Regions from separate parts of the Homo sapiens genome. Here region 2 is linked to region 1. The links are contacts of gene promoters, found by promoter capture Hi-C in blood cells and fetal thymus (Javierre and others, 2016). All regions are on one chromosome and are shown on one strand. The core of a region is centred on a gene start or on the middle of the fragment in contact, and the rest is flanking DNA. Distances in the headings are between cores, read along the strand shown.

Region 1 (3,434 bases), core at 249-2,748:
GGCACTGACCTATGACCCCTCCTGTTTCAGTCTGCAAACTGCTCCCCTCCACACCCACTTCCCTTTTGCCAGACATTGTCAGCCCCAGAGGCTCCCGCCAGCCCCCCAAAAGCTCATAATTAAAAGCCCGAGGGGGCAGAGAAGGACCTGGCTGCAGGGGAGCCCGGCAAACCCAGCATCCTGGCGGAGGCGGGAGGCCCGCCGGCCTCTGGAAACCACGCGGCTGCCTCCCCACCGCAGCCATTCCCCGCTCTCCCTGGGGGTTCTCAGATGTTGCCAGATGGCAGAACTGAATCTGCTGAGACGTCACTCCAAAAAAGGAAAGTTGAACTGAAAAAAAAAAAAAAAATTCAAACTCTCCAACATCTTAGGAGAAAGCAGAAGAGGAGGGAGGGAGGGAGGCTCCAGGCCCAGGGCTCCCAGTGCCCTCTGCTGTTCAAAGAGATCTGCCCTGGTTGGAGAGGGCAAACCTGGAGGGGGTGGGAGGAGGGGGTAAATGAGGACACTGGGTTGTCAGGGCGGCCAGGGGGGCCAGGTTCCTGCTGGAGCGGAGAGTGTCTGCCTGTGCGTGGGGGAGCGAGCACATGTGTGCCGTCTGTGACTGCGTGCTTGTGCAGGCCGGGCGTGTGTGGCTCCCAGGGTCACGCTTTGGGATGTGTGTGTCTGTGTGTGTGTGTGGGGGGGGCGGGGGGGACACAGGCTCGTTGCATTGTCTCCGCATTTGTGTCCCTGAATGTCCCCAAGTGGGACTTCACTCAACACATTCGTGAGTCCCTACTGCGATAGGGCAGTGAACAAAATAGAAATCTCTGCCCTCAGGAAACTGGCATTCTAGCGTCTGTGTCCTCCGGGGTGCTGTGAACTCGCGTGGGTGTCCCAGTATTTGTCTGTGTGAGATCTGACATCTCCGGTCCGTGGTGGGTGGTGAGTCTGCAGTGTGTTCGCCCGGGCTGGGTCTCGGGTCTGGGGAGGCCCAGCGTGTTCCTGCCTGGAGAGGGCTCTGCGCTACTGTCTGCTCCCGTCCCCAAGTGCCCCACTGGGCGTGCTCCTAAAAGGCCCTGTGTAGGGCCCTCCCTGCGCGCCCCCTCCCCATCCAGCGGCCACTCCAGAGTTATAATTTAATAGCTGAAACGCGATTCCAGTGAGGTACTGGGGCTGGAGAGGAGGAGGAGGGCCCCCGGGCCCGCAGGAGAAGAGGGAGGGGAAGGCTGGGAGGCGCTTCCCCCCTCCTTCCTCCTCGGGGAGCTGCCAAAAAGAAACTCGGCGTCGCGCCCAAGTGTGTGCGTGCGTGTCTGTGTGTGTGGCGGCGTGCGCGCGCGAGTGGGGACGCGCAGGGCCTGGAGAGAAGGCGCGGGCCCTTTAAGGAGCCAGAGGGGGCCGGGCCGGGGCGCGTCGCTGCGGGCGGGGAGCCGGGAGCAGGGAGGCCGAGCCACCGCCTCCCGGGCTCGCGCCCCGCCCCCTCCTCCCCCTCCCGCCGCCGCCGCCGCCGCCGCCGCCGCCACCGCCGCCGCGGCCGCCGGGGAGCGCGGAGCCGCGGGCAGGCCGGGCCGCACCGGAGCCCCGCGTCCGCCGGCGCCCCGCCCGAGCCCTGCGCCCGCGCCCTGCGCTCCGCGATGCGCGCCAACTTGCGGGCCGGGGACCCAGGGCCGGCGCCCTAGGAGGCGGCGGCGGGAGGATCGCGTCCCGACCCGAGGCCGGGCCTGCTGCGCGCCCCCAGCCCGATCGGCACCGCCACTTGCCTGAGCGCCCCGGCGGCCCGAGCGCGCCCCAAGCCCGGGCGCCACCGCTGCCACCTCCGCGAGGTGAGTTGGGGCCGAGGGTCCCCGCGAAGGGCGGGGGGAGGCGCGGAGCGCGCTTCCGGGGGATCCGGGGAGGATCGGGCGGCGCACGCGGCGGAGTTGGCGGGGCCCCTGCACTCCCGAGTTGGCGCTCTCGGGGGGTGGCCTGCTGGGGAGCAAGGCGCCCCGCCGACACTGCGGCCCGCGTGCTCGGGGGCGCCGGGGAACTTAGGGGAACTCCAGCTCCCTAGCGAGGGGGCGGGAAGGAGGGAAGTGGCGTTGGGGTGGGCGGGGGGCGCGCTGGAAATGCACAGAGCGGCCCCCCACAGTGTGCGCCGGCTCTGGGGACTTGGCCGCCAGGCGTCCCTTGTACCCGGTGTAGCCCCGGACCTGGCGGGGCGACACTGCGCCTTATTTTCCATCGGGCAGCGCGGGTTTGAAAGCCCTTGGAGATGGTACCCCTAGCTCCCTGGCCTGGCTGTTGTGGAGGGGCGCATGAGGGTCTCTCACCAGCCGAGGGGGAGAGCCAGCCTTGTCCCTCCTAGGCGTGGGGCCACGGGGCGCTGGGCGGGGTCCCTCGGGAGAGTCGCCCCTGGTCCCCCTCCCCCGCGGGCCGGTGTTCCTGGTGTCTGGGCCTGCCTCCCGTGGCTGGTGACGCCTCATTGGGCCGCCTCCTAGTCCCTCCCCCGGGCTGTGCGGATACTTGGGATGCCACTACTTTGCGAAGTTGGAATTCAGAGCTGATCCCACTTGGGCACGACTGGGAAGACCCAGACCCTTGTCTAGAGGGCAGCTTCCTCAGAGGCCTGCGGGGAGTGAGGGCACCCGTGGGGTACGCCCTCCCCGCCCCAGACACTTGCAGGAGGAGCAAGCCGAGGGCGGGAGGGCACGGCGGGCGGGAGGGAGAGACAGGCTGTACCTGGGAGCTGCTGTCGCCCGGGCCCAATTAGCGTGGGGCGCCCGGCGTTATTTTTACATTGTAGGTTTATTTTTTTGGAAGCGAGTGTCCTCCCGCCGCCTGTCGCGCGCTCCGGCTCTCCGAGGGTCTGGTGCAGGCAGCGGGGGCGGATCTGTTCTGTCGGCTCAGCCTCCTCCCTTCCTCCCCCTCCTCCTCTCCCCCGTTGGTGAGAACTGGTTTTATTGTGATTATTATTATTTTTCCCTTTTTGCAGATTTGGAGGAAGGATGTGTGAGGGAGGGAAGAGGGGAGGAGGGGATAAGGGGAGGACCCTGTGGGCGGGGTGGGGGAGTTCTGGGCGCGTTGGGATGTGTTACCGGTGGCCTTGACTTTGCCCCTTTTCAGCCAGATCTGGGTCCTTGCGGCAGCTTTGATATAAGGGGCTCTCCGGGCCAGACTGCGCCGGGAGGGCGACCCGGGGCAGGCTGTGTACCTCGTGGGTGGCCTCTTTGGGGGTGCTGAGGAGGGGCCGAGAAATGGCAAGCAGCAGTGAGGTGGGATGGCCCACTCTGCACCTCAGCTCCTGGGGTTTGACTCTGACCTTTGCCACTTTCCTGGCAGTGTGACCCTGGACAGATGCTTAACTTCTCTGTGCCTGTCAGGTTTCCCATCTGCAAAATGAGGGTCAAAATGGTACTGAGTTCACAGAGTGGTTGTGAGAGCTGACCGTCCGGCCATAAGAATCCCTTGGTACTTGT
Region 2 (3,434 bases), core at 297-2,796, 34 kb before region 1:
GGGACCCAGCTGTGGACAGAGGTCCCAGATGTAGAATGATGAGCAGTTACCTCCCACCGAGCCCAAAGGGACCACACCAGATCCATGGGAATAAATAAAACCCACCTCCCTCTCCGGCCTCCCAGGCCCTCTGAGACCTGGCCACCGCCACTGTCCCCATCTCCCAGTGTGGTCTGGCCTCACGAGCCTCCTTGTCGTTTCCTGGACGTTGCAAGCTTGTTCTGACCTCGGAACCTCCGTACGTGCAGTTCCTGCTACCAAGTCTTCTCTCCCCCAAGACACTCACAGGCTCAGCTCCTCTCCTTATTCTGGTCTCTGTCCGAATATTGCAAATGTCCCCATGTTGCAGCCCCTCCCTGGTGCTCCTTCATCCTCTTCCTTCGGCTCCATCTTTCCTTGTGGCCCTCAGCATCATATTTTGTATTCACTGTCTCTCTCCCTCTAACGTCAGCTTCCTGGAGGCAGAGACCTCTTCTGTCTTGCTTATCTTTGTGCTGCCAAAACTGTGAGGTATCCCCAAATGTTAGTCAGCTCCCTCATTTCACCAATGGGAAGGGACCTCCCTCAATGTTTTTGGTAAACTTACATATAAACTTTGGGTGGGGGCGTATGCATAGTCCAAAGTTCACTTGCACATTTATATTAGTGGTAGAGTTACACATGCCTGTTTATGCCTATTTAAAGTCATATGTTGGCTGGGCGCAGTGGTTCATGCAGGTAGTCCCAGCACTTTGGGAGGCTGAGGTGGGAGGATCGCTTGAGGCCAGGAGTACAAAATTGGGCAACATAGGGAGCCTCCTATCTCTACCAAAAAAAAAAAAAAAAAAAAGCAGGCGTAGTGACAGTGTGCACCTGTGGTTTCAGATACCAGAGAGGCTAAGGTGGGAAGGTTGCCTGAGCACAGGAGGTTGAGGTTTCACAGAGCTAAGATCTTCACTGCACTCCAGCTTGGGCAACAGAGCCAGACCCTGTCTGTAAAAAACAATGAATTAAAAAGTCACATGTAGCTGGGCGCAGTGGCTCATGCCTGTAATCCCAGCACTTTCGGAGGCTGAGGCTGGCAGATTGCTTGAGGTCAGGTGTTTGAGACCAGCCTGGCCAACATGGCGAAACCCCATGTCTACTGAAAATACAAAAATTAGCTGGGCGTGGTGGTGCGTGCCTGTCATCCCAGCTACTCGGGAGGCTGAGGCACGAGGATCACTTGAACCCGGGAGGGAGAGGTTGCAGTGAACCAAGATTGAGATCATGCCACTGCACTCCAGCCTGGGCAACAGAGCAAGACTCCGTCTCAAAAAAAGAAAAAAAAAAAGAAAGTCACATATGACATAAGTAACACAGCACATTAAGATACATTTCTTTGTGTTCCATTCTTACATTCATAAAATCATGTTCTCCCAACTCGCCGCCTGTGTCTTTGACACGGTGTCTTTGAGTCATCAAACAGCATTTGGTGGGCCCCATCTGTTCCCCTCATGTCTAGAACTTTGGAGACATGACATTTTTTGAATCTGCCTATGACGCAGCTACTGGAAATTTTATCCCAGGCCGCAAATATCCTTTTGCATAAATTAGGACATTGGTTGTTTCATTTGTTTTGTGGGTGTATATTATTGATGAGTTCCAGCAAGTAACCACGTACTGTGTTACTTTTTAAAGCGATCTTTAAAAGGGTTGTTTAGAGTGATATCCAATACTTCATACCCCTGGAATAATGGCTAAATCTGATGACATTTCTTGACTGTCTCTGTATAAATGATTCCGAGGCCGGGCGCGGTGGCTCACGCCTGTAATCCTAACACTTTGGGAGGCCAAGGCGGGCAGATCATGAGGTCAGGAGATTGAGACCGTCCTGGCAAACATGGTGAAACCCCGTCTCTACTAAAAATACAAAAATTAGCCAGGTGTGGTGGCACATGCCTGTAATCCCAGCTACTTAGGAGGCTGAGGCAGGAGAATCGCTTGAACCCGGGAGGTGGAGGTTGCAGTGAGCCGAGATCACACCACTGCACTCCAGCCTGGCAACAGAGCGAAACTCTGTCTCAAAAAAAAAAAGAAAAAAAAAAAAGATTCCGAGATGAGACTTATAGGAATCTTAGGCCGCGTAGTTTGAGATTGTTTCGGGATAAGGCTGGCATTCTCACCTGAGCGTATTTAGAATCACCTGGGGGAGATTTTAACATACATAGATGGTTCTAGGTTTCACCCCTAAATCAGCAGACTCAAAAATCTTAGAGGGGGACATCTGTATTTCTAAAAATCATCTAGGCAGGCTGAGACCCATGAGGCTTAATTTTGATATGACAAACCAGTTGTTCCCAAAGTGTGGTCCCTGAGTTAGCAACATCAACCGTGCCTGGGAACTTGCTAGAAATGAGATTTTCAGCCCCACCCCAAACCTGCTGAATCGGACACTCGGGAGAGGGGCCCAGCAGTGTCCCTTTTCATAAGCCCTCCAAGGGATTCGATGCTTGTTTAAGTTGTTCTAAACCAGGCTTTGATGTTTTTTTTAAATAAAAATAGGGCCCAGGTGTGGTGGCTCACACCTGTAATCCCAGCACTTTGGGAGGCTGAGGTGGGCGGATGTCTTGAGGTCAGGTGTTTGAGACCAGCCTGGACAACATGGTGAAACCCTGTCTCTACAAAAAATACAAAAATTAGCCAGGGGTTGTGGCATGCACTTGGAGTCCCAACCACTCAGGAGGCTGAGGGAGAGGACTGCTTGAGCCCAGGTGGATAAGGCTGCACTTAGCCAGGCTCGTGCCACTGCACTCCAGCCTGGGCAAAAAAGTGAGACCCTGTCCCCCAACCCCCAAAATAATAATAATAATAATAATAAATAAGTTAATGAGAAAGAATCAAGAGAAAAGAAGCTTCGTAAGGACTGAAATATCAGGTTACTCCTGTTTTTCTGAGGGAAACTTTCAGGGGTTCAGAGAGCTCACCGTATATTCAGAGAGGTATGCTGCTATCTGTTGAGGGAGTGGAATTCATGTGGCTTCCATGTCTTGAGCACTCTCTCAGCACCACACAGCAGGGTAGATGCTTTGCACCACGTCCCAGTGAGATGGGTTCTATTATTATCCCTAGTCTACAGATGAGGAAACTGAGGTCAGAGAGAAAGTTCTTTGCCCAAAGTCCCATGCTTGGGAATGGCAGTGGGTACTCCATCCTAGGGCTGGTCCCCAAGCACAAGCTACTTACTATGACACCTCTCCACTGCAGGGGATGGGGTTCCTGGGTCAGTGCAAGACCCCAGCCTCTGGCCTCCTCCATCTTACCGCTGTCGGGGGTATACTGGCCCAGGCCCCAGCTGCCAGGAGGGACTCCCCTCTGGCCTCAGGGGGCTTGCTGAGCAGGAAGGCTTTGTCATCCCAAGCCCAGGGTGGGCTGAAGTCTCCCTCTGAGGCTTGCATTAAAGAGATTCAGCTGAG

The links. Contacts are between HindIII fragments. The CHiCAGO score rates a contact against its expected background, and 5 or more counts as called.
Region 2: a fragment that was not itself captured here is called in contact with the fragment with the promoter of NCOR2 in region 1 in 4 of 17 cell types (monocytes, M1 macrophages, M2 macrophages and 1 more); the score reaches 11.8 in monocytes.

What each region holds. Positions count from the first base shown.
Region 1 is chr12:124,565,676-124,569,109 of GRCh38, reverse strand. It overlaps NCOR2 (nuclear receptor corepressor 2), which reads left to right and starts at 1,498. Exons shown (of 49, transcript NM_006312.6): 1 at 1,498-1,802. RefSeq lists enhancers at 1-45, 46-906, 1,073-1,122 and silencers at 1,243-1,492, 1,603-1,962, 1,983-2,092, 2,233-2,452, 2,653-2,752. The HindIII fragment of the contact is 7,570 bases long and covers 1-3,434 here.
Region 2 is chr12:124,599,936-124,603,369 of GRCh38, reverse strand. No RefSeq gene overlaps it. Among named protein-coding and RNA genes, the nearest start is that of NCOR2, 34 kb to the right of the region's middle. The HindIII fragment of the contact is 2,658 bases long and covers 218-2,875 here.